Linked DNA regions of Homo sapiens: regions 1, 2, 4, 5, 6 and 7 are each linked to region 3. Evidence: promoter capture Hi-C in 16 types of primary human blood cells and fetal thymus (Javierre and others, 2016). All regions are on one chromosome and are shown on one strand. The core of a region is centred on a gene start or on the middle of the fragment in contact, and the rest is flanking DNA. Distances in the headings are between cores, read along the strand shown. Region 1 holds the start of TLCD2 (TLC domain containing 2). Region 2 overlaps LOC284009 (a long non-coding RNA gene). Region 3 holds the start of OVCA2 (OVCA2 serine hydrolase domain containing). Region 4 overlaps SRR (serine racemase). Region 5 overlaps SGSM2 (small G protein signaling modulator 2). Region 6 overlaps PRPF8 (pre-mRNA processing factor 8). Region 7 overlaps PRPF8 (pre-mRNA processing factor 8).

Region 1 (3,120 bases), core at 621-3,120, 330 kb before region 3:
AGACAGACTCTCACTCTGCCACCAGGCTGGAGTGCAGTGGTGTGATCTTGGCTCACTGCAACCTCTGCCTCCTGGGTTCAAGCAATTCTCCTGCCTCAGCTTCCAGAGTAGCTGGGACTACCGGTGCGCGCCACCACACCCAGGTAATTTTTGTATTTTTAGTAGAGACGGGGTTTCACTGTTAGTCAGGATGGTCTCGATCTCCTGACCTCGTGATCCACCCGCCTCGGCCTCCCAGTGTGCTGGGATTATAGGCATAAGCCACCGTGCCTGGCCTAGGGCTTTCATGCCCCATACCCACACCCTATACCAGGACACCCCCTTCTCAGAAAAGCTCCATATTCCACATTTCTGTGATCAGCTGGACACCTGTGGGGGCACCCAAACTCCTTAGGCTCACATGGTGGGTGCCCTGGCATGGTGGGTGCCCTTGTATGGTGAGTGCCCTGGCATGGTAGGTGCCCTGGCCTGGTGGGTATCTGGACTCCCCAGCTGTGGCCAGCAGCCACCTCCTCCCCCTAACTCAGCCTAAGACTGGGAGCCAAGCACCAGCTGGGGGCAGAGACTGTGGGAAATTATAGGACAGCAAAATGAAGAGAGGGCCGGGGGCGGTGGCTCATGCTTGTAATCCCAGCACTTTGGAAGGCTGAAGTGGGCGGATCACCTGAGGTCAGAAGTTCGAGACCAGCCTGGCCAACATGGAGAAACCCCGTCTTTACTAAAAATACAAAAAATTACTTGGGCGTGGTGGCGGGTGCCTGTAATCCCAGCTACGTGGGAGGCTGAGGCAGGAGAATTGCTTGAACCCAGGAGGCGAAGGTTGCAGTGAACAGAGGCCGAACCACTGGACCCCAGCCTGGGTGACAGAGTGAGACTCCGTCTCAAAAAAAAAAAAAAAAAAAAAAAAAAAGAATGAGGAGAGACTGGGAACCTCGGGCTGGACAGGGCTCCCCTCCTCCCTTCCTGTCTGGCTTCTGCCCTCAGAGTCTCACCACCAAATGATGACAGAGAAGATCCCAGGTCTTGCCCAAGGTCTGGTTCCACAGCAGGTCAGCTCCGTCTGCCAGGAAGTAACCTGTGGGCATGGGGGTAGGGGTTAGGCTGCTCCAGAGCCCGGGCAGCTTAGAGAGGATTTCCAGCCCCCCCGCCCCGCCCCTCTCCCAGTTCTTAGTTTTCCCTTGGTAAAGCCTTCAGGAACGTTTAACCCCCATGGGGGCGGGGAATGGACCTGGAAGGACAGCAGAACCTGCCCCCCGCCCCATCCCCACCACCGGCCCAGCCTTCCCTGCAGACTCACCCACAGACACAGCCACCAGCACCAGAGCCCAGCGCGGGTGGCCATGGATGGGGTCGGCGGCCATCTGAGGGTACAGTGACAGGCTGGGGGCATGGGGTGGGGACATGGGGGGGGGCATGGTCAGCCTCTCGAGGCCCCGGCCGCAGTCTCCCTGTGCGCACCCCCACCCCAGTCTCAGCTCTGGAGACGCCCGGCGGGTCTCCCGGCCTCAGCCTCCCACCCCTCGCCCTCGCCCCGTGCGCCTCGAGCCCCCAAGCCCGCACCCGAGCAGCGCCCCGGTCCCCGAGAGCAGGCTGTGCGCCAGGGAGACGCAGAGGTTCCACCACTGCCAGCGGTCCCGAGCGGCCGATTCCGGCGTGGGCAGCCGCCGCAACCCCCAGTGCAGCCCCCGGAACGCGAGGAAGGAGGCGCCGGCCACCAGGAGCCCCGTGGGCGCCATGGCCTGGCGGTTGGGGGGTTGCGGGGAGTCCGGGTCGGTCCCCTCGGCGCCCGCGCTCTCGGCCGGGACTGGGAACCCGTTTCCCGGCAGGGCTGGGGCCCCGGCTCCCCTCCCCGCCGCGCCTTTGGGATCAGCAGGAACTTTTCCCCGTTCGTCCACGCCCAGTCCCTCGCCTGGGCGGTGATTGGAGCAGCCGCGGGGCCGCCGCCCCCGGAGCCTTGGCCACCGATTGCGTCTTGCTCCAGCCGGGGGAGCGGTTCGGGGGCTCCGGGCAGTAGACCATGCCCTGGAGCTCGGGGGGCCTCCGGGATGTTCGCCAATAGGGGTCCTCCCCAGCTCCAAGCGTCCTGAAGCGCTGGAGTTGCAGACCTGGGTCTCCAGTCTAACCTCAACTGACACTCCCGGGCCCCACCCACGAACCTTGACCTCTTCCCGGCTCCCGCGACTTTCACCTGCTGAGCGTCATCACCACCCACCGCCACACCCTGCAAGGCAGAGGCTAGCGCAGCCCACTCGTACCTGCCCGAGCCTGGCCGCCGCCCCCACTTCCCTCCCCGCGTCCGTGGTGGGGACGGGGTGCCCCACTTTCTTGGAGCCACCCCTTCGGCCTCCTGAGGTTTCCACGCCTTTACCATATCCCGGCAAACCTGTAATTCCAGCAGTTCTGCTCCCCCTCCCCCACAACCCCCAGGAGACCCCATGTTGGAGAAGCGACCCACTGGGCCCCGCCCCGACCCCCAGCATTGTTTTCGGCCCTACGGAGGAGCCTCATTAGGAAGAGGACGCAAAAGGGAATCGCTGGCCCCCAGTCTTGAAAAGCACTTCCTTCCCCAAGGGCTTGGTACCCGTTGGGTGGGTAGAATATCTTCAATCCGAGGGCAAGGAAAGGTAACACAGGGTCCCTTCAAGGCTGGGACAGAGTCAGAAGAGAAAAACAGACCTGTCCTGCTCTTAGTAGCAGGGCGGTTAGGATTCCAGAACCCTCCAGCCTTAAGAGGAAGAGCCTCCCCCAGCCCCTCACCACCTGAAGAGCCCCAGGTTGCACTGCTTTCCTTCCACCTTACTCCACTCCACCTCTTCAGCTGGCAGACAGTCAGCAAGTCAGAGCTGTTTCCTGCAGGCTGAGAGGGAGGATTCCAGCTACTTCAAAGAATTAAGTTCATAAACCAAGAGGTGCCCCAACCAAACCTTCTCACCAAAAAGCTGAGGTCTTCCCTTCATTCTTCTACCCCCACCTCTCCAAAGGTTTAAATAATAACACTGATCTCTTAAATTATATTATATGAAATACAAAATGTGGAAAATTTGGAAATTACAGAAAAACCAAAGATGAAAATTACAGTGACTTTGTTCCACCATACAAAGATAACCACTCAACATTTTT
Region 2 (3,144 bases), core at 241-2,740, 360 kb after region 3:
GTCTCTACTAAAAAAAAAAAAAAAAAAAGGAAGAAAAAAGAAAATTAGCTGGGCGTGGTGGCAGGCGCCTGTAATCCCAGCTACTGGGGGTGGTTAAGGCAGGAGAGTCACTTGAACCCGGGAGGTGGAGGTTGCAGTGAGCTGAGATGACACCACTGCACTCCAGCCTGGGCCACAGAGAGAGACTCCGTCTCCAAAAAAAAAAAAAAAAAAAAAAAAAAAGGGTGGGGGAGGCTGTTTCTGGACCTATTGTTGCCTACAGGAGCCTGAAAATGGCCAAAAACAATACCTCATCAACCAAGCTTTCCCCAGTTGAGGAATGGACAGTGGGGGTGGGAGATACCTATAAATGGCGATGTGAGGGCATGAAAGAAGAGGGGAATGAATAGGAGGGCTGTTTAATATTTTAGCCCCAGCTTCCTGTTCCAAGGGGGTGGAGCCAGGATAGAAGCTGGCAAATGTACTCACTCAAGAGAAAGAGAAATAAGTCCTTTTGGTTTCAGCAGAAAGGTTAGCAGGTTTGGGGAATTATCCAAAGGCCAGCAATCTCTAAAAAGGTGTTCCTTAAGTTTCTTTTTCTTTTTTTCTTTTTTGAGATAGAGTCTCCCTCTGTTGCCCAGGCTGGAGTGCAGTGGTGTGATCTTGGCTCACTGCAACTTCTGCCTCCCAGGTTCAAGTGATTCTCCTGCCTCAGCCTCCGGAGTAGCTGGGATTACAAGCACGCACCACCACGCCCGGCTAATTTTTGTATTTTTAGTAGAGACGGGGTTTCACCATGTTGGCCAGGCTGGTCTCAAACTCCTGACCTCAAGTGATCTGCCTGTCTTGGCCTCCCAAAGGGCTGGGATGACAGGCGTGAGCCACCGCGCCCGGCTGTTCCTTAAGTTTCTTCATGGCTTCTGGGTGCTTAGTACCTTGGAGCAGGAGAAAAGCTGGGCTGTCCATCATTGTGAGTTTCTCACGAGAGGGTTTCCGTTTTCAGTCTTCCTCCCCGAGTCTTGTGCACCCCACCTCCCAGTTCAAATTCCATTATGTCCTCCAATTTTTTAATCTTTTATTCTTTTTTTCACCAACCACAATAAGAAGCACCAATTCCCCAATTTTTTAATATGCTGAGCCAGAGACATCCCCTTAGTGGAACTGTCTTCCTATCCCCCACCACTCACCTAACAAAGTATCAACTCCAAGAGCTATGAAAATCAGTGCCCTGACTCCTACAAAGCCTGAGTCATGAGATGGGGGAAAGGGCGTGAAGCCGAAAGTACAGATGTTCACAGGAAATCCCAACCCTTCAAGCCTGATGTCTCATCTTTTGCAAGCAGCTAAGGAGCTTTTCACATACCATCATTAAAACAAGACCCATGGGAGGAAGCTGGCTGCAGGATGAAGAGGAAAAAACAGAAGACTAGTACACTCAAGACATACCAGAGAAGATCCATTTCATAAATATTTATTGTGTGCCTGAGGTGCCAAGCACTAGGCTAGGTATGCTGTGGCCAAGGCCAGGGGACCTCTGGTAAGCCAGAGCGGGGCAAAAGCAAACAGAGCGGAACTCCACTCCACTGTGATAACTTGCAAAAGATTAGTTCTGCTGTTCGCCACCGTGCTGGATGCAGCACCAGAGACAGGACGACACGAGGACCCAGAGGGCGCCGCCATGCTCATTTCAGAAGGTGCAGCCTCCGTGTCCGTGGGTCCGCACCCATGGAGGCAACTAACCGTGGATCAAAAATATTCAGGAAAAAAAAATGGAAAATATACAAGAAAAAATAATACAAATTTAAAAACCAACACAGCACAAGAACTATTTACACAGCATTTACATGGTATGAGGTATTTGAGTAGCGCAGAGATGAGTTAAAGGATACCTGAGGATGTGCATAGGTTACATGTAAGGGATTTGAGCATCATCCATGGACAGGTATTCAGGGAGGCTCCAGGAACCAATCCCCATTGGACAGTGAGAAGCAACTGTAATTCCGTTTTTCTATGTAGAGATAAAAACAAATTCAGTGGATTTAAGGCTGGGCCAGTCAACTGAGCCTGATTCCCCCAGTCTGAATGATGAGTGGGACTCTGAATTCCTTTGACAGAGGTGGACCCATTCAATCATCAGTGAAATGGGGTCCCCACAGCCAAAAGTTTCCACAGGACTCTTTACCTCCTTTCCCCACCCCAAGTGAGTTGTCAGAGGACCTCTCCTGAACTCACAGAACAGGTCCAATCAAGTTCCACCTCCCCATTCATGTCCTTTCCAGAAGCTGGGCGCGGTGGCTCACGCCCTAAGTTCCAGCTACGTGGGAGGCTGAGACAGGAGAATCGCCTGAGCCCAGGATTTCAAGGCCAGCCTGGGCAACATAGCAAGATACTGTCTCAAAAAAAAAAAAAAAAAAATTGCAGCCTCACATGATGTCATAGCTGGAAGAGCTGGGATCATGGGGTCTGACCTCCCAAGAGAAGGTGTATCCAAGGTCACAAAGCTGCCAAGCATCAGCTAGGTTGAGAAGTGGCCTGGTCCTCCTCTTTGGCTGGCTGGGCCAGGCCTGGGGAAGTGCTATCAGTGTGGGGTGTTGAGTCCCTGAAAGCCTCCCAGAAGTGGGTGAAGATGGAGAGGGAACTCCACCCCTCCTCGTTAAAGACAGGAATAATCATTCACTTTGCTTAGTGGTCCCCAATAAACAAGCTTAGCAGATAAGCGGGAAGACAGGGAAAGGGAATCAGACTTGGGATCCAGGAGCTCGCAGGACCCTGTTCTGCCCCAGGCCACTCAGGAATGGAGAGCTGCTAGCTGGACCTGGGTAGGTCACCATTACTCACTGGGGCTTTTGTCTGGCATGAAAGGTGACGGGAGAAAGGGGCAGATTTTTATCCAGGCAGCCACCGTGGGTGTGGACACTGAGTAATAAGGAAAGAAATGCAGTTCAGAAGCAAAGAGGGAGGAGCCAGGTCCTCTGAGCTCTTCTGAGAAACCAGAGCCCAGTCGAGCTCTGCAGCTAGAGTGGCAGCTGCGGATGACAGTGGGTCAGAAGCTTGGTGGGAGGAGGCTGACCCAGCGGAAAGGCACAGGAGACGGATGACGATGTCAGGGATTCCTTTAAAGGAAAAAAGAGGTGGCTTTATGACAGCAAAACTAATTCAGGTCAA
Region 3 (2,998 bases), core at 1-2,500:
TTTGGGGCTCAGAGGCAATGGCAACATCACATTTGTCCTTGTGAGATGAGTTTGAGCGGTGGCTGACACCTGCCCTGTACCAGGTACTAAATGTGGTTCTGGGGATACTATCACCAGTGAGCTGCCCTGGAAAGCTCATTGTCGGCAGAGGAAACAGGAGAAAACACGCAACAATACAGTATTCCAAACAGCAGTGGGTCACTGTCTTTACTTTAGGATTCATAAAGCCTGTTAATGAATGGGTGTGCTGGGGGCACTGTCATGTTCTTCAGCATGCTGCCTGGGCGACGAGGAGGCCCTTCCTAGGGTCTGACCTGGCTTCCCTTCCCAGGTGGGTGCAGGTGGCATGTCCACGTCTCTCCATTGACTGGGGCACAGCCTTCCCCAAGCCGCTGCTGACACCCTATGAGGTAACACCAAGCTCTGGGAGAGAGTGGGCTTTGGACGTGGTTCTCAAAGGTGAGGTCTGGAGTGGAGTGGGGTGGGTGGGCAGCACTTCGTTATGTTCGTAGATTCCGGAGTCTGTCTCGATTTCTCCAGCGGAGTCACTTCCTAGCTGTGTAGCCTTAGGCAAGGCCCTGAACCACACAGTTCCCTTCTGTGGCAGGGGACAGTGTGCCCTTCACAGGCCGTCGTGAGGACTGAATTCAGTAATCCAGGGGCAGAAAAACACTGGCAGATGTTATTGTCCCTCCCTCCCCTCCCCTAGGCGGCCGTGGCTCTGAGGGACATTTCCTGGCAGCAGCCCTACCCGATGGACTTCTACGCTGGCAGCTCCTTGGGGCCCTGGACGGTGAACCACGGCCAGGACCGCCGTCCCCACGCCCCGGGCCGGCCCGCGCGGGGGAAGGTAGGCGGGGGCTTCCAGGAGGGAGGAGAGACCGCGCCTGGGCACTGGCCGCCGCCCTGCGACCGCGACGGGAAACGCACAGGAGCGGAGCGGAGGGAAACGCAGGGTCGCAGGAGCGAGACCCTAACCAAAGTCTGCGACCTCAGGTGCAGGAGGGGTCCGCGCGTCCCCCTTCGGCCGTGGCTTGCGAGGACTGCAGCTGCAGGGACGAGAAGGTGGCGCCGCTGGCTCCTTGACGCGCTCCCGGGCCTCAGGTATCAGCCCCCGCTCTGGGTGCGCCCCGCCTTTTGCCGTTGTCATGGGAACGCCTTGGCGCTCCGAGGCCCGCCCTCGGGGCGGTGCTGACGTTCGGTTCCGCCCCGTGCATTGTGCTTCCGCTCGGGGAAAGACCGCTTCCGGTGCTTCCGTCGCTCCTTGCCGGGCATAATGGCCGCGCAGCGACCCCTGCGGGTCCTGTGCCTGGCGGGCTTCCGGCAGAGCGAGCGGGGCTTCCGTGAGAAGACCGGGGCGCTGAGGAAGGCGCTGCGGGGTCGCGCCGAGCTCGTGTGCCTCAGCGGCCCGCACCCGGTCCCCGACCCCCCGGGCCCCGAGGGCGCCAGATCAGACTTCGGTGAGACAAGCCCCGCTCCGGAAACGCACTCAGTTTCCTCCATCTTGTTTCGTCCCCCTCGACACCCTTCAGCATCCCCCACCCTGCGTCCACCCGCATTCCTCCCACCCAGTCCACACCCTTCATTTCTCGCGACCCATACCCTCTTTGCTCAAACTGCAGCCTGTCCTCCCAGGCTTCCGCCTTCACCGTCTTCCTCCGCTGTCTCCTGTTCAGGCCAATCCACTCATTTCCCCCCTCTCATTTCCCCCAGACTTTTGCCTCGATTCCCTTTTTCTCTCTGTCATCTCGAACCCTCCTGCCCTTTCTCATTTCTTTCCTTCCTGGAGCCTCCCATGCCCTAATCCCATCCTTTTTCCTCATATCGCTGTAGGGTCCTGCCCTCCGGAGGAGCAGCCTCGAGGCTGGTGGTTTTCAGAGCAGGAGGCCGACGTTTTCTCCGCATTGGAAGAGCCCGCCGTCTGCAGGGGCCTGGAGGAATCACTGGGGATGGTGGCACAGGCACTGAACAGGCTGGGGCCTTTTGACGGCCTTCTTGGTTTCAGCCAAGGGGCTGCGCTAGCAGCCCTTGTGTGTGCCCTGGGCCAGGCAGGCGATCCCCGCTTCCCCTTGCCACGGTTTATCCTCTTGGTGTCTGGTTTCTGTCCCCGGGGCATTGGGTTCAAGGAATCCATCCTGCAAAGGCCCTTGTCATTGCCTTCGCTCCATGTTTTTGGGGACACTGACAAAGTCATCCCCTCTCAGGAGAGTGTGCAACTGGCCAGCCAATTTCCCGGAGCCATCACCCTCACCCACTCTGGTGGCCACTTCATTCCAGCAGCTGCACCCCAGCGTCAGGCCTACCTCAAGTTCTTGGACCAGTTTGCAGAGTGAAAGATCAAGAAATGTCTCTGCTCCTACATCCAGCTCCTCTAGGGGCAGCCTCCGTCATCCATGCCCTCCCAGGACCCTCCACTCACTGCTGTGAGTGCGCCTCACCAGAACCAGTTAAGAGACAACTATCAATTCTTGAGACCCAAATTATAAGGGCCCTGCCCTGTACTGAAGAAAAGGGGAGCACAAGGCCTTAATGGACATTGACTTGTGAAAACGCAAACATGAATATGGTTGGAGAGCCCTGGATTAGGAGGGTGACATGGGGAAGGCAGAGGCTGGCACCATGGTGACTGCCACATAATAAAGTGGTGATTTGGATTTTGAGCATCTTTTTCCTGGTACACACAGAAAAACATTTTATAATGGAAGTCGGTTTCTTGGCCATCTACATAGTTTTCTGGGCAGCGCCAAGCAGGGAGGTGTCTCCAGTTGTGAGTCCTCGGACAGGCTGCTGCATGGGTGCACATACTCACGTTATTGGTGGAAGTTTTAAGTCCCAAACTGAAGGGAAGGAGGCCTAGGTGGCACAATCAGGGAGGAATATACATCTGAGAAGTTTTGGGAAGACATCACCTGGCAAGGCTGCCTGAACCACAGTAATTTAGTCTTCCTCTATCCAGATCACTGAGAGTTGTGTGCTGGTCTTCTCTCAAACCCTGGAT
Region 4 (3,318 bases), core at 677-3,176, 270 kb after region 3:
AAATACCATTTGGTGAAATCTACCCTAAGGACTGACGGAGGTACACAAAAATCTTGCAACAAGGCTATTCATTACATCATTCTTACAGCCAACAACAACAAAAGGAAATCCAAATGTTCATTTGAGCTATGTAAACTTAAAATTATTATTTTTTCTTTTTCAAGAGATAGGGTCCTGCTTATGTTGCCCAGGCCACAGTACAGTGGCTATTCATAGACGTGATAATAACACACTCCCGGGCTCAAGCAAGCCTCCCGCCTTAGCCTCCCAAGTAGCCGGGACTACCAGTGTGTGTCACTGCCCCCAGCTAAATTATTGTATTTTTGTAAAAGAAGTACTATTAAGTCATTTTAAAAGTTGGATAAAGCCGGGCGCAGTGGCTCACGCCTGTAATCCCAGCACTTTGGGAGGCTGAGCCAGGTGGATTGCCTGAAGTCAGGAGTTCGAGACTAGCCTGGCCAACATGGTGAAACCCTGTCTCCACTAAAAATAAAAAAATTAGCTGGGTGTGGTGGCAGGCGCCTGTAATCCCAGCTACTAGGGAGGCTAGGGCAGGAGAATCGCTTGAACCTGGGAGGCAGAGGTTGCAGTGAGCTGAGATGGCGCCACCGCACTCCAGCCTGGCGGCAGAGCAAGACTCTCTCAAAAAAAAAAAAAAAGTTGGATAAATGGGCCGGGCGTGGTGGCTCACGCCTGTAATACCAGCACTTTGGGAGGCCGAGGCGGGCGGATCACCTAAGATCAGGAGTTCAAGACCAGCCTGGCCAACATGGTGAAACCCCGCCTCTACGAAAAATATAAAAATTAGCTGGGTGTGGTGGTGGGCGCCTGTAATGCCAGCAACTCAGGAGGTTGAGGCAGGAGAATTGCTTGAACCCAGGAGGCAGAGGTTGCAGTGAGCCACAGTCATGCCACTGCACTTCAGTCTGGGTGACAGTGAAACTCCATCTCAAAAAAACAACAAAAAAAAAATGTTGATAAATGTACTCACCTATGAGATTCATTGATATTCATAATACTGTCTGACAAAAAAAGAAGTTACCAAACCTACCAAAGAGTTTTGTCTGCATATGTAGTTGGGCCTGGAAAGGTAAACCACTGGATAGCAACTGTCTTTAGGTAGGAAGGTTTCGTGGCTATTTTCATGTTCTTTTTGTATCTCTGTATTTTCAGATTAACTCAGTTTTCTAATGAATATAGATTCTTTTGTAATAAGGAAAAATAGAGAAACTTCATATTTAACTGCTACAATAGACACAGTGGAAAGTGGAAGCTTAATGTAGTTATTGAAAATTATGAAAATTGTAAAGAAACTGAGTCAAATGTAGGAGCAAATAAAATGTTTGCTTTAACTGTTACATAATGTATATTGAGAATGCAGAAGGAGCCGGGCGCAGTGACTCACGCCTATAATCCCAGCACTTTGGGAGTCTGAGGCAGGCGGATCACCTGAGGTCGGGAGTTCGAGACCAGCCTGCACAACATGGAGAAACCCCGTCTCTATTAAAAATACAAAATTGGCCGGGTTTGGTGGCTCACGCCTGTAATCCCAGCACTTTGGGAGGCCGAGGCAGGCGGATCACGAGGTCAGGAGATTGAGACTATCCTGGCTAACACGGTGAAACCCCGTCTTTACTAAAAATACAAAAAATTAGCCAGGCATGGTGGCAGGTGCCTGTAGTCCCAGCTACCAGGGAGGCTGAGGCAGGAGAATGGCGTGAACCCGGGAGGCGGAGCTTGCAGTGAGCCGAGATCGCGCCACTGCACTCCAGCCTGGGTGACAGAGCGAGACTCTGTCTCAAAAAAAAAAAAAAAAAAAAATTAGCTGGGCATGGTGGTGCATGCCTGTAATCTCAGCTACTCGGGAGGCTGAAGCAGGAGAATCGCTTGAACCTGGGATGTGGAGGTTGTGGTGAGCCAGGACTGCACCAGTGCACTCCAGCCGGGACAACAGGAGTGAAACACCATCTCAAAAAACAAAAAAAAAGAAAATGCAGAGGGAAATAAAGAAAATGAACATAGTTATTTAAATGGAATAGTCTAGCTATTTTTTCTTTATCAAATAATTTGTTAAATTTTTATTAAAAATTAAAAATTTAAATTTATAAATTAAAAATAATATAAAAATTGAATCCAATTCATTCAAGTAGCTTCACAACGATGATTAAAAGAAAGGTGGAGCTGGGCACGGTGGCTTACACCTGTAATCCCAGCACTTTGGGAGGCCGAGGCAGGCGGATCACGAGGTCAGAAGTTCAAGACCAGCCTGGACAACATGGTGAAACCCCGTGTCTACTAAAAATATAAAAATTAGCTGGGCACGATGGCACATTCCTGTAATCCCAGCTACTCGGGAGGCTGAGGCAGGAGAATTGCTTGACCCGGGAGGCGGAGGTTGCAGTGAGCCGAGATTGTGCCACTGCACTCCAGCCTGGGCTACAGAGCGAGACTCCGTCTCAAAAAAAAAAAAAAAAAAAGGAAGATGGAGACCAGTGGCAGTGCCAACAGTGCCAAGAGATGGGTGGTGTGGGTGGGGAGTGGGCTTTAGCCTTCTGTAATCACCATCAGTTACTTCCCTCAAAGCTTCACCAGAAAAACTTCGTTCAGCTTTTAAGTCAACTCTCTTTTAGGGAAATTCTGACACTCCAATAATGGAGAATTTCCACATGACACCACAGGCCCCAGGTCTATTCTGTTACGTATTTTCAAAATCTCTTCAATAAACATACTGTCTCAGACTTTGCTTTGACCCCTTTCTTATTCCTGGGTTTCAGAACCATGTGTGCTCAGTATTGCATCTCCTTTGCTGATGTTGAAAAAGCTCATATCAACATTCGAGATTCTATCCACCTCACACCAGTGCTAACAAGCTCCATTTTGAATCAACTAACAGGGCGCAATCTTTTCTTCAAATGTGAACTCTTCCAGAAAACAGGATCTTTTAAGGTAACAATCCTTTTTCTCAGTGTATCATGTATGTTTTCACACCCTTTCACATATCAGTTTGATTCTCCTGACCACCCAATGAGATAGGCAGAAGTAAATTAATGCCTTTATACAGCTGGAAAAAAGGTTACAGAAATTTTCCTTTCAAGTCCTTGTTTTACCTAGCATCATAGTGTTGATAAGCAACTTTTACACAGTCATAAATCCTTATAATTAGGATAATATATATAACTTATCCGAGTAATTTTTATATATATGTATGTGCATATATATAATATATACATAAAATACAGTCATATGCCACATAACGTTTCAGTCAATGACAGACCACCTATATGATGGTGGTCCTTGGTCCCATAAGGTTATACCACA
Region 5 (3,061 bases), core at 336-2,835, 320 kb after region 3:
TTCTGTCTGACTGTCTCCAGCACAGCTCACTGTTTCCAGTCCGTGTGAAAAAACCACCTCCTTCTCCCCTCAGTGTCCCTGCCCCCAACCAGACACACCTGGACGTGGCAAAAGGGGCTCGGGCCGAGGCTTGGAGCCCTGGGTCCTCATCCTGGTGGCTCTGCCATGTTGTGACTGTGATCGAGTTTCTTCCCCTCTTTGGGCCTTTCCCTCCTCACCTGTAAAACTGTTAGTTTGGCCCAATCATGTAGAAGCTTCTCCGCCCCACACACATACACACTCCTGTCTTTAGAGTCTGTCTGGGCACAGGGCAGCTCCCTACTGTCTCCTACCAAGCCCTTCTTTTCTTCCTGCAGGGTCTGTCTGTGGAAAGTCCAGACAGAGACTAAGCCTAACCCTAAACCATGAATGAATGGAGGGAAGCCCTCCTAGCATGGAAAAGAGAAATCTCTCCCTCAGCTGCTGGGCTCATCAGTCCAGCGGCCACTGTCGGGTCCAAGCTCTGCAGTGACTTCATCAATATTTTAGCTCCTGCAGAGCCCTGTTCCTTAGCAACCGCATCCTCCGTGCCCTCCAGAAAGGCTCCCGAGTCGGGTGTTCCTCACATCCCCGTCCTGTAGGTGCTGTGCCTTGCTGTCAGGTTTGGAGCCACTCATGCCACCCTGAATGGGGAGCTTTGGTCCTCATGACCCCCAGGGGTGAGGCTGCATATAGGAGGTGTGTGCGCACCAGGCGAGGGAGAGGGACAGCTTGGCATGTCAAAGCTCTTCGCCCCGGGCAGGAGCCGAGGGACGGGGAGGGGAATTTTGGAAGGAAGCCAGGGTATCTCCCTGGCCTGCCCTTGGCTTGCCCTTACCCCTTGCCTCACCACAGGTATGGGGAAGAGGAGCTTTTCTTCCTGCTCCCCCGTCTTTCCCAGGCTCAGATGCCGTTTCCCTTTGTGGCCTAGGTGCAGTGGAGGCTTGCCTCTTGCATCAGCTGAGACGCCGTGCCGCTGGCTTCCTGCGCAGTGACAAGATGGCAGCCCTGTTCACCAAGGTGGGGAAGACGTGCCCAGTGGCGGGGGAGATTTGCCACAAGGTACAGGAGCTGCAGCAACAAGCAGAGGGCAGGTGAGCCCTGGGCCAGCCCCTTCTTCCCTCCTTTCAGCTCTTCCCACTTGGCAATTGCTACTTCCTAGGACACCCATCGGAAAGTTGGCATCCTGGGCCTGTTCCTTGCAGGGCCTCTGGGTGAGGGATCAGCTTGAGGGAGGGGATTGGTTCCTTGTGGGCACAAGGCTCTGTACCCCTCCTTCACCTCCCAACCCCAGTCAGTTCTCTGTGCTCCCATCTTGGGGTACCAAGCCCCACTCCCAATGCCAGCATTCTGGGGTTTACCCCTAGACCACTGCACTCCTGGAGCCCTCCCCGCCTTTGCAGGAAACCCTCAGGGGTCAGCCAGGAGGCCCTGCGGAGACAGGGCTCAGCCAGCGGGAAGGCCCCGGCCCTCAGCCCTCAGGCCTTGAAACACGTATGGGTACGCACGGCGCTCATCGAGAAAGTTCTGGACAAGGTCGTGCAATACCTGGCGGAAAACTGCAGGTGACCGCCCCGTTCCCCAAAAACTGCAGGTGACCACCCCGTTCCCCCCAAAACTGCAGGTGACCGCCCCGTTCCCCAAAAACTGCAGGTGACCGCCCCGTTCCCCAAAAACTGCAGGTGACCGCCCCGTTCCCCCCAAAACTGCAGGTGACCGCCCCGTTCCCAAAAACTGCAGGTGACCGCCCCGTTCCCCAAAAACTGCAGGTGACCGCCCCGTTCCCCAAAAACTGCAGGTGACCGCCCCGTTCCCCAAAAACTGCAGGTGACCGCCTCGTTCCCCAAGCAGCCCCTCCCTTGACCCGTCTCCCGACGTCCCTCAGCCCCAGCCCTCAGGATGCTTGCCTGTCCGTGACAGCCTGTAGGCAACCCTCCATCTCCCCGTCCCCTTCGGTGCCCTCAAGGCATTGGCCATACCAGGCACCTCACGAAGCCCAGTCCCTAAGGACTCACTGTTTCTTGATGACTGATCTGAATCTGGTCTTTGTGGGGATGTCCCTACCTGGTGAGCTTGACTGCCCTGGAATGAGCCCCGGAGCCTCGGCAGTCACACTGTCTGTCTCCTGGCAGCAAGTACTACGAGAAGGAGGCACTGCTGGCAGACCCTGTGTTCGGCCCGATCCTGGCCTCTCTTCTAGGTGAGCCTGAGAGCACAGGCACAGTGGGTACGGGGCAGGTGCTGAGGGAGCATCGTCTGGGCTGGCTGTCTCTGTCTCCACAGTGGGACCCTGTGCCTTGGAATACACTAAGCTCAAGACAGCCGATCACTACTGGACTGACCCCTCTGCTGATGAGCTGGTCCAGCGGCACCGCATCCGGGGTCCACCTACTCGCCAGGACTCCCCTGCAAAGCGCCCAGCCCTGGGGGTAGGTGCCCCCTCCCCACCCTTTGGGCTCATCTGGGCTATGCCCATGGGCCTGTAGGGACGGGAAACCGGCCTCTCTACGGGACAGGCCTTGGAGATGCCCCAAGGTAGCGGCTGCCTCAGAAGAGCCTTCTCCGCACAATAAAACTTAACACAAATGCCGGGAGCCCATGCTGGTCCGTGGCTGGAGAGCAGAGGGTGGCTGGGAGTAAACCGGGGCAGGAAGGACCCCTGGGGTCAGCTGGAGAGGGTCAGCATGGAAGCGTGAGGGTTCCCAAGCCTTGAGGCCAGTTTCCCAAGGCTGGAGGCTGAGCCCCGGCCTTCCACACAGATCCGGAAACGGCACTCAAGCGGCAGCGCGTCGGAGGACAGGCTGGCTGCCTGTGCCCGCGAGTGTGTGGAGTCCCTGCACCAGAACTCACGGACGCGGCTGCTCTATGGCAAGAACCACGTGCTGGTGCAGCCGGTAGGAAAGCTTCATCCTGCCATCCCTCCCCGAAGGTCCCCGAACGAGACGACTGGAAGCCTCTAGCCATGGCTATTCCTTTCCTGAGGAGCTTGACCAGAGACGGGGGGGAGAATGGCCCCAGCCTCCCAACTCCCTGTTTCACACGA
Region 6 (3,245 bases), core at 606-3,105, 360 kb before region 3:
TATATACTGCCACTGCTTCCTCCGCTGTGATGTAAGGCCCGTCCTGTAAGGTGGACATGAAATTAGCCTCCCGCTACAGCCCGATCCTGCCAGAACAAGGTTCAGTCACAACTCTACAGTCCTCCCTCTTGCCCACTCCCCCACCACTCACACCCAGCCCAGCCTACTCTGCCCAACCTTCAGGTAGTTGTGCTGCCGCTCCTGTTCTGCCTTCAGATAGAGCCGGGTGAGGCGGCCCAGATTCTTTTTACAAACAGTCTTGTCCACAGTGGCCCCTCGGCGGATCCGTTCTCGGTTGTAGTGGGCAGTGTTGGTCCACCAGTCAGCCTTGGCCTTCACGTATCGAAGGATCATATTCTCTATGGGCGTCGGCAGCCCAGGGACCTAAAAGTCCAAAAAGCACAATCAAGCCAGGATCCAGCCAGGCACTGTGGCACACATCTGTAGTCCCGGCTACTCAGGAGGCTAAGGAGGATCGCTTGAGCTCAGGAGCTTGAGGCCAGCCTAAGCAACATGGTGCTTCTTTTCCCTGTCTAAAAGGGAAAAGAAAAGAGATTGGAGCCAGATAGCCCCCTAATGATTCCCGAAGTGGTAATCCTACCCTAAAGACGGATGTTTACGCCTCCAAGGAAATAAAGAGACACCCACCTTCCAGGGAATGTTGGCTTTCCAGCAGCGCCAGGCTTCACTGAGGTGCTGCAGGATTGTCCGGGCCTTGTTCTGCTTGATCCCCTCAGGCATCATGTCCAGAATATCATGCATCACAGCTGCCCGCAGCTCAAGGTCAAAATGTGACTCCACTCGCTGCTTTGTTACTGTCTTTGCCACCCCCTTTGAGTGTCGACCTGGAAGTAGAGTGTCCCAAGGGGATTACAAGGAAGATTCCTTGCTTTCAATAAGGGTCTCTACCTTCATGCTCCTCACTCATTATGGTTATTAATAAAATTAGGTATTAACAAAGCGTCCCTGTGCCCAGCATATGCAAAAAGACGAGCTACCTTAAACATTCACAACTATGCTTCTGAGGAATTTCCACTCCTGCAAATGCATGACTGCCTCTCAAGGCCCCAGAAGGAAGCCCAAGAAATAGAATACTAGGTCAGACTCATTTCAGAACTGGACCTAAAGGCAATCCAGTAGGAAGAGTGCTCATACAAGAGCAGGGAACAGACTCAAACAGGGGCAGGTACTTTTGAAGCAATAACAGGAGAAGTTGGACACAGAGAAAACCACTCACCTTCAAACTGCCGGGCCAGGAGGTTGCCAAGCCATCGCTCTAATAAAGGGGTAATGCCACGCATGAAAAAGAGCCAGACTCGCCAACCGGCAGCCCAGAAGCCACAGCCAGGACCCTTCCCTACAGGGCCCTACGATCCCAAGCAGAAGTTAAGAATACAAGTTAGCAATGCATTTAAACAACAATAGAAACCTGGGCAGAGGTGGGGCATATATGTATAATATACATACAGAGGAATGTAGGTATGGCAGTAGAGGGGTAAAAAGAAAAAAAAACTCTGGGACCTCAACATCTAAAACAAAAGGGTAAATGAGAAACCTTAAGGCAAAAACCAGGAACTAAGATCGCCCATGTGAATTTAAAGGAGCAGTAAGGACACAGTCATAGCTGCTCTCCAAATAGGTCCCTGGAAAGAGCCCTGTCTAAATGTATACATGAAAAAAGATCTGAGAAAGTTAAGTCCAGTGAGGCTGGGCACGGTGACTCACGCTGGTAATCCCAGTACTTTGGGAGGCCGAGGAGTGTGGATCACCTGAGGTCAGGAGTTCAAGACCAGCCTGGCCAATACAGTGAAACCCCATCTCTACTAAAATTTCAAAAACTAGCCAGGCATGGTGGTGCGCGCCTGTAGTCCCAGCTACTTGGGAGGCTGAAGCAGGAGAATCACTTCAACCCGGGAGGCGGAGGCTGTGGTGAGCCAAGATCGTGCCATTGTACTCCAGCTGGGGCAACAGAGAAAGACTCAGTTTCAAAACAAAACAAAAAAAAAATTGCCAGGCGTGGTGGCGGGCACCTGTAATCCCAGCTACTCGGGAGGCTGAGGCAGGAGAATTGCTTGAACTCAGGAGGCGGAGGTTGCAGTGAGCCAAGATCGTGCCATTGCACACCAGCCCAAGAGACAAGAGTAAGACTCTGTCTCAAAAAAAAGAAAGTCAGTAAAGTCAAGGTCTCACCGTGTTGAAACGATAATAGATGAGATGCTTCAGGTCCTTGCACATGCGAATCTGTCGCATCAGCTTGTATTTGTATCGATACATGCCCGTCAACTGCCCAACATGGGCAAATATATACTGCAATCCATCTGCCAGCTGCAATACAATTGCCCCATCAGACCTGGAGCTTAAACCAGCTCCACGGTCAGCACAGGCTTCCTCCAGCGTCCTCACCCAGGCAGGGGTTGGGAATACCTAACCTTACCTGGAAGGCATCCACATTGCCCAGCCGATACTGCACGTGACTATCCACCACCAGCTTAGTCAAACGCAGAACTTCCCGACACAGGTGGAAAGCATTCCCAAAACGAGATTTCTTTCTTTCCTGGAGAAGATGCAAAAAACAGACAGAACGTGAATGAGCAATGGACCCAACTGATGTATGCCTTCATCAGTAACCAGAGGAAAACAACTGTCCGTCCTTGAAGCCCAGGAGGCCCCTAGGGTCCAATGCAGGCACCTTGGTGGTGAGCGTTTTCACAGGCTTGAGGTTGAAGTTGTAGTCCAGGTGCAGGTAGTTGAGGTTTTTGCGGTGAATGAGAAGGTTGAGCATGTTGTAGCCCTGGCGGCAAACCTGGAGCCCAACCTCCACCCAGTCCAGCTTTGTGGACTGAAAGAATTTGGTGGCTTTGAAGGAGCGGAACAAATACCTGAGGTGGGAACATGGAGAGTAAGAGTCAGCCTACTGATATCTCTGGAACAGAAGTCTGCGCAGGGCCCCTGGGGCACCTTACCTCTTCTTTTGAGCCTTAGGGGGCCGATGCTTCAGGGCATTCAGCACATAGTACTTAAGCAGCTTCTGGTAGGAGACCCTCACTTTCACAGGCTGCCCGGCAGGACAATGCTCCCGATACCTGGAAAAATAAGCCCACCAGAGTTTGGCCATCTCTTCTTCCAGACACTCTGCTAAAGGCTGCAAGCCTTGGGTTGTCTACCATTTTTATGGGAAAAAAAAAAAAAGAATTTAAAAAAAAGGCTACATGCCCACCTAGTTGGAGTCTTTTCTCCTACACATC
Region 7 (3,126 bases), core at 567-3,066, 380 kb before region 3:
CACAAACCAGATAATCTGGTTGGAGAAGAGCTCACCATAGTTCTGAGAAGACAAATAAGGCTCAGTGGGTTCAGATGAATAGAGCTGTAGCCCCTTGCGGATCCGTTCACGTAACACATACAGGGCAGGGTTTGCCTTCATGATCTTGGCCATGGCCTGTTGTATGAGAGGCTTGCTGCCTGGGAACCAGTTTCCATAGGCACTGTGAGGATAAAAGGGTCAAGAAAAGTTAAGACGAGAATGACAGCCCCAGAAACAAGACAAGCTGCCAACTCTACAGAGGAAGAAAGACTGTTCGCCAGGCTGACAACACTCTGCTCATGTGTACATACAGGCTGGAGAAGAGAATCAGTGACCCATAGGAGGAATGGGCCACTTCCTCTCACTTAGGTAAAGTAAAAAAGTATGACTACGTTAAAGTATGGAGCTAATGGAAAATACACGGATTATTTATTTATTTATTATTATTATTATTTTTCTTTGAGATGGAGTCTCACTCTGTCGCCCAGGCTGGAGTGCAGTGGCGCAATCTCGGTTCACTGCAAGCTCCGCCTCCCGGGTTCAAGTAATTCTCCCACCTCAACCTTCTGAGTAGCTGGGACTACAGGCGTGGACCACCACGCCCAGCTAATTTTTTGTATTTTGGTAGAGACAGGGTTTCACCATGTTGCCCAGACTGGTCTCAAACTCCTGAGCTCAGACAATCTGCCCACCGCGGCCTCCCAAAGTGCTGGGATTACAGGTGTGAGCCACTGCGCCTGGCCTGAAAATACATGGTCCTGAGCCTCAACTCACCTGTGCAAGTTATAGGCCAGGTCAATGGCGATGAGTACACCTGTGGGCGAAGGGTAGATACTCATGTTGTCGGTGGTGTAGTCCAGGAACTTGGCCCGGGCGTAGCGCTCAATGTCGTGGGAATCATAGTCCCCCCAGCGCAACTGGATGTCAATCCAGTATTTCTGGGTGGTGGTGCTGTCCATCACATCCCTGAGGATGAAGAGGGTTCAAGCTTCTAAGAAACCATGGGCATAACCAATGTCCCCAGAACCAGAACCACTTAAATCCCAAAACCATCCCACCCACTCCACCAACTTGTTCCAGGTCAGCAGGACCCCAGAGAATCAGCAGATCTGACTAAGGGTGTTGACAGGCTCCAAGCGTAGCACTGGCTCCAAGTTTGAAACAAAGGCAGACAGGACAATTCCTAAAGTTGCAGGGCTAGAAGAACAGGAAAACGAAAGTGTCCTGGCTGCCTAGGGCTGGGTCCTGAGGCACTTACTTGGAGTCAGCCAGCAATGAGGGCCGGGAGACATTCCACTTATAGGAGGCAAAGAGCAGGATATCTGCACAGGAAGAGTTCATCTTATATGACTTTCGGGGATGGATTGTCTCCTTTTGTACTGTCTCAATTTCCAGTGCATCAAGTTCCTGGTCAAACACCTGAAGGAAAACATGGAGAGATTAAGACTTGTTAAGGAAGCCCAATTAAAATCAGAGTTTGTACAATAAGATAATGAGGCAATAGGAGTCTCATCCTCAGAGCTTCCAGGGTGGATTTCCCATATGCAAAAGAGCAAGCTGAGCTGACTCTGTACAGCACGCTCTCCCCGCGATTCCACCTGAGCTGACTCTGTACAGCACCCTCTCCCCGCGATTCCACCTAAGCTGACTCTGTACAGCACCCTCTCCCTGCGATTCCACCTGAGCTGACTCTCTACAGTACCCTCTCCCCACGATTCCACCTGAGCTGACTCTGTACAGTACCCTCTCCCCTCGATTCCACCTGAGCTGACTCTGTACAGTACCCTCTCCCCTCAATTCCACCTGAGCTGACTCTCTACAGTACCCTCTCCCCTCGATTCCAGCCCACCTGACATAAGTCCATAACAATGCTCTCATGGATCTTCTGCCACAAGTGAGCTCGGAAGATCTGGATGAGAGAGATCTTCAGCGTGGGGATCTTGCCGTGCATGAAGATACCCGTCAGGTCTAGCTGCACCTGAAAGCCTACATATACCTGCCAGGAAAACGACAATGTGACATTAGAGATCAAGAGACTCGGGCGCTCACGACATAACCAAGGCAAGAAGCAGCAACTGTCTTTAGCTTCCCCTCTCCAGTGTCAATCACACTCACATTGGCTCGATTAATGGTCGGGGACCACCAGAGGGTGAATCTACGATTGGGAATCTGGTTCAGTCCTGATCGCTGAGCATTAGTTAGCTTCTTCCACTTCATAGATTCCTCAAAGCCACTGGCCTTCTCCCTGGGGAGCAAGAGAAGCAGGTGAGGTGATATCCTGCCATTTCCCAGCACACTGCTAACCTCCTGGAGGTGGCTGTCTGGGAAACACCACAGGAAATCACAGAGGCATACAAGAGATGAGCTCAAAGGGTTGTGACAGGTCCCTCTAAGAGAGGAGAATCCTCACCAGAAAAGCCCCTCCCAGGTAGGGAAGTAAGTGCCCTTAAAGAGTGTGTGTTCCAGAATGCCTTCCACACCGCCCAGGGCCTGGATCATGTCTGTACGGTAGTTGTTCAGGTTCCAGAGCTTCCCATCATGCCGCTGGTGTGTCCACCAGAACGGATTCTGCTTCAAAACCTAGATGGCAAGGCAGGCACGGTCAAGCTTCTGGGTGCCTATTGCCCCAAGTTTCGGGGATAGCCATGGATTTTCCTGACTCAGGGAAAATCTGCTCCCTCTACATACCTGATACTGCTTAAAGTCAGTTCTGACACGCCAGCCCTTATCATAAGCCAGTGTGTGCCGGTCCTTCTGGAAGAGGGTATTGATTCGAGGAATGCCACGATCCCATGAATCTTCTAGGTCTTCTAAAGTCAGGCGTCTTCCAAAAAAAGAAAGATTCAAGTCAAAACGTGATCTCATATGAGGAGCTCAGCACTCCTTCCTGGCCAAAAATAATTAGGGTCAGTAGAACCAGCCTTCTCACCTCCATACAACCATGGCATGCTCTGACCCTGAACTCCACACGGTTCAAAGGCCACCACTGCCCCTGCCCCAGGGTTGGCATGCCCTCCTAGGTGCCCACCTGTTCTGAGCAATGGCCTCTTGCCTCTTGAGTGCGTACTCAGCCCAGACCCGCTGAGAATCAATGAACTCGCTCTC

What was found. Contacts are between HindIII fragments. The CHiCAGO score rates a contact against its expected background, and 5 or more counts as called.
Region 1: the fragment with the promoter of TLCD2 here is called in contact with the fragment with the promoter of OVCA2 in region 3 in 1 of 17 cell types (fetal thymus); the score reaches 6.2 in fetal thymus.
Region 2: a fragment that was not itself captured here is called in contact with the fragment with the promoter of OVCA2 in region 3 in 1 of 17 cell types (endothelial precursors); the score reaches 7.2 in endothelial precursors.
Region 4: a fragment that was not itself captured here is called in contact with the fragment with the promoter of OVCA2 in region 3 in 4 of 17 cell types (activated CD4 T cells, total CD8 T cells, naive CD8 T cells and 1 more); the score reaches 6.1 in activated CD4 T cells.
Region 5: a contact is called between a fragment that was not itself captured here and the fragment with the promoter of OVCA2 in region 3, in 1 of 17 cell types (endothelial precursors). The highest score is 5.4, in endothelial precursors.
Region 6: a fragment that was not itself captured here is called in contact with the fragment with the promoter of OVCA2 in region 3 in 5 of 17 cell types (total CD8 T cells, naive CD8 T cells, naive CD4 T cells and 2 more); the score reaches 9.0 in total CD8 T cells.
Region 7: a fragment that was not itself captured here is called in contact with the fragment with the promoter of OVCA2 in region 3 in 4 of 17 cell types (naive CD8 T cells, naive CD4 T cells, fetal thymus and 1 more); the score reaches 6.9 in naive CD8 T cells.

Annotation. Positions count from the first base shown.
Region 1 is chr17:1,708,507-1,711,626 of GRCh38, forward strand. TLCD2 (TLC domain containing 2) reads right to left here and starts at 1,871. Exons shown (of 4, transcript NM_001164407.2): 1 at 1,561-1,871; 2 at 1,298-1,380; 3 at 993-1,075. The coding sequence starts at 1,736. MIR22HG (MIR22 host gene) reads right to left here. Exons shown (of 3, transcript NR_028505.2): 3 at 2,998-3,120. The HindIII fragment of the contact is 21,928 bases long and covers 1-3,120 here.
Region 2 is chr17:2,404,139-2,407,282 of GRCh38, forward strand. LOC284009 (a long non-coding RNA gene) reads right to left here. Exons shown (of 3, transcript NR_028335.1): 3 at 2,843-3,092. Among named protein-coding and RNA genes, the nearest start is that of MNT, 4.7 kb to the left of the region's middle. The HindIII fragment of the contact is 2,381 bases long and covers 301-2,681 here.
Region 3 is chr17:2,040,772-2,043,769 of GRCh38, forward strand. It overlaps OVCA2 (OVCA2 serine hydrolase domain containing), which reads left to right and starts at 1,251. Exons shown (of 2, transcript NM_080822.3): 1 at 1,251-1,460; 2 at 1,834-2,654. The coding sequence starts at 1,277. The coding sequence ends at 2,333. DPH1 (diphthamide biosynthesis 1) reads left to right here. Exons shown (of 13, transcript NM_001383.6): 10 at 332-410; 11 at 710-850; 12 at 997-1,104; 13 at 1,834-2,998. The coding sequence ends at 1,086. RefSeq lists silencers at 754-843, 1,354-1,553 and an enhancer at 1,104-1,163. The HindIII fragment of the contact is 21,411 bases long and covers 1-2,998 here.
Region 4 is chr17:2,312,783-2,316,100 of GRCh38, forward strand. SRR (serine racemase) reads left to right here. Exons shown (of 8, transcript NM_021947.3): 2 at 2,775-2,946. The coding sequence starts at 2,779. Among named protein-coding and RNA genes, the nearest start is that of SRR, 10 kb to the left of the region's middle. The HindIII fragment of the contact is 1,310 bases long and covers 1,272-2,581 here.
Region 5 is chr17:2,360,688-2,363,748 of GRCh38, forward strand. It overlaps SGSM2 (small G protein signaling modulator 2), which reads left to right. Exons shown (of 24, transcript NM_014853.3): 3 at 950-1,112; 4 at 1,422-1,583; 5 at 2,151-2,218; 6 at 2,302-2,447; 7 at 2,778-2,912. Among named protein-coding and RNA genes, the nearest start is that of SGSM2, 25 kb to the left of the region's middle. The HindIII fragment of the contact is 2,667 bases long and covers 253-2,919 here.
Region 6 is chr17:1,676,328-1,679,572 of GRCh38, forward strand. It overlaps PRPF8 (pre-mRNA processing factor 8), which reads right to left. Exons shown (of 43, transcript NM_006445.4): 10 at 2,964-3,083; 11 at 2,690-2,879; 12 at 2,435-2,554; 13 at 2,191-2,325; 14 at 1,238-1,367; 15 at 649-845; 16 at 178-384; 17 at 1-43. Among named protein-coding and RNA genes, the nearest start is that of PRPF8, 6.9 kb to the right of the region's middle. The HindIII fragment of the contact is 3,942 bases long and covers 1-3,245 here.
Region 7 is chr17:1,658,562-1,661,687 of GRCh38, forward strand. PRPF8 (pre-mRNA processing factor 8) reads right to left here. Exons shown (of 43, transcript NM_006445.4): 26 at 3,050-3,126; 27 at 2,710-2,845; 28 at 2,432-2,601; 29 at 2,137-2,266; 30 at 1,871-2,017; 31 at 1,280-1,440; 32 at 796-987; 33 at 1-202. Among named protein-coding and RNA genes, the nearest start is that of RILP, 10 kb to the left of the region's middle. The HindIII fragment of the contact is 1,619 bases long and covers 1,008-2,626 here.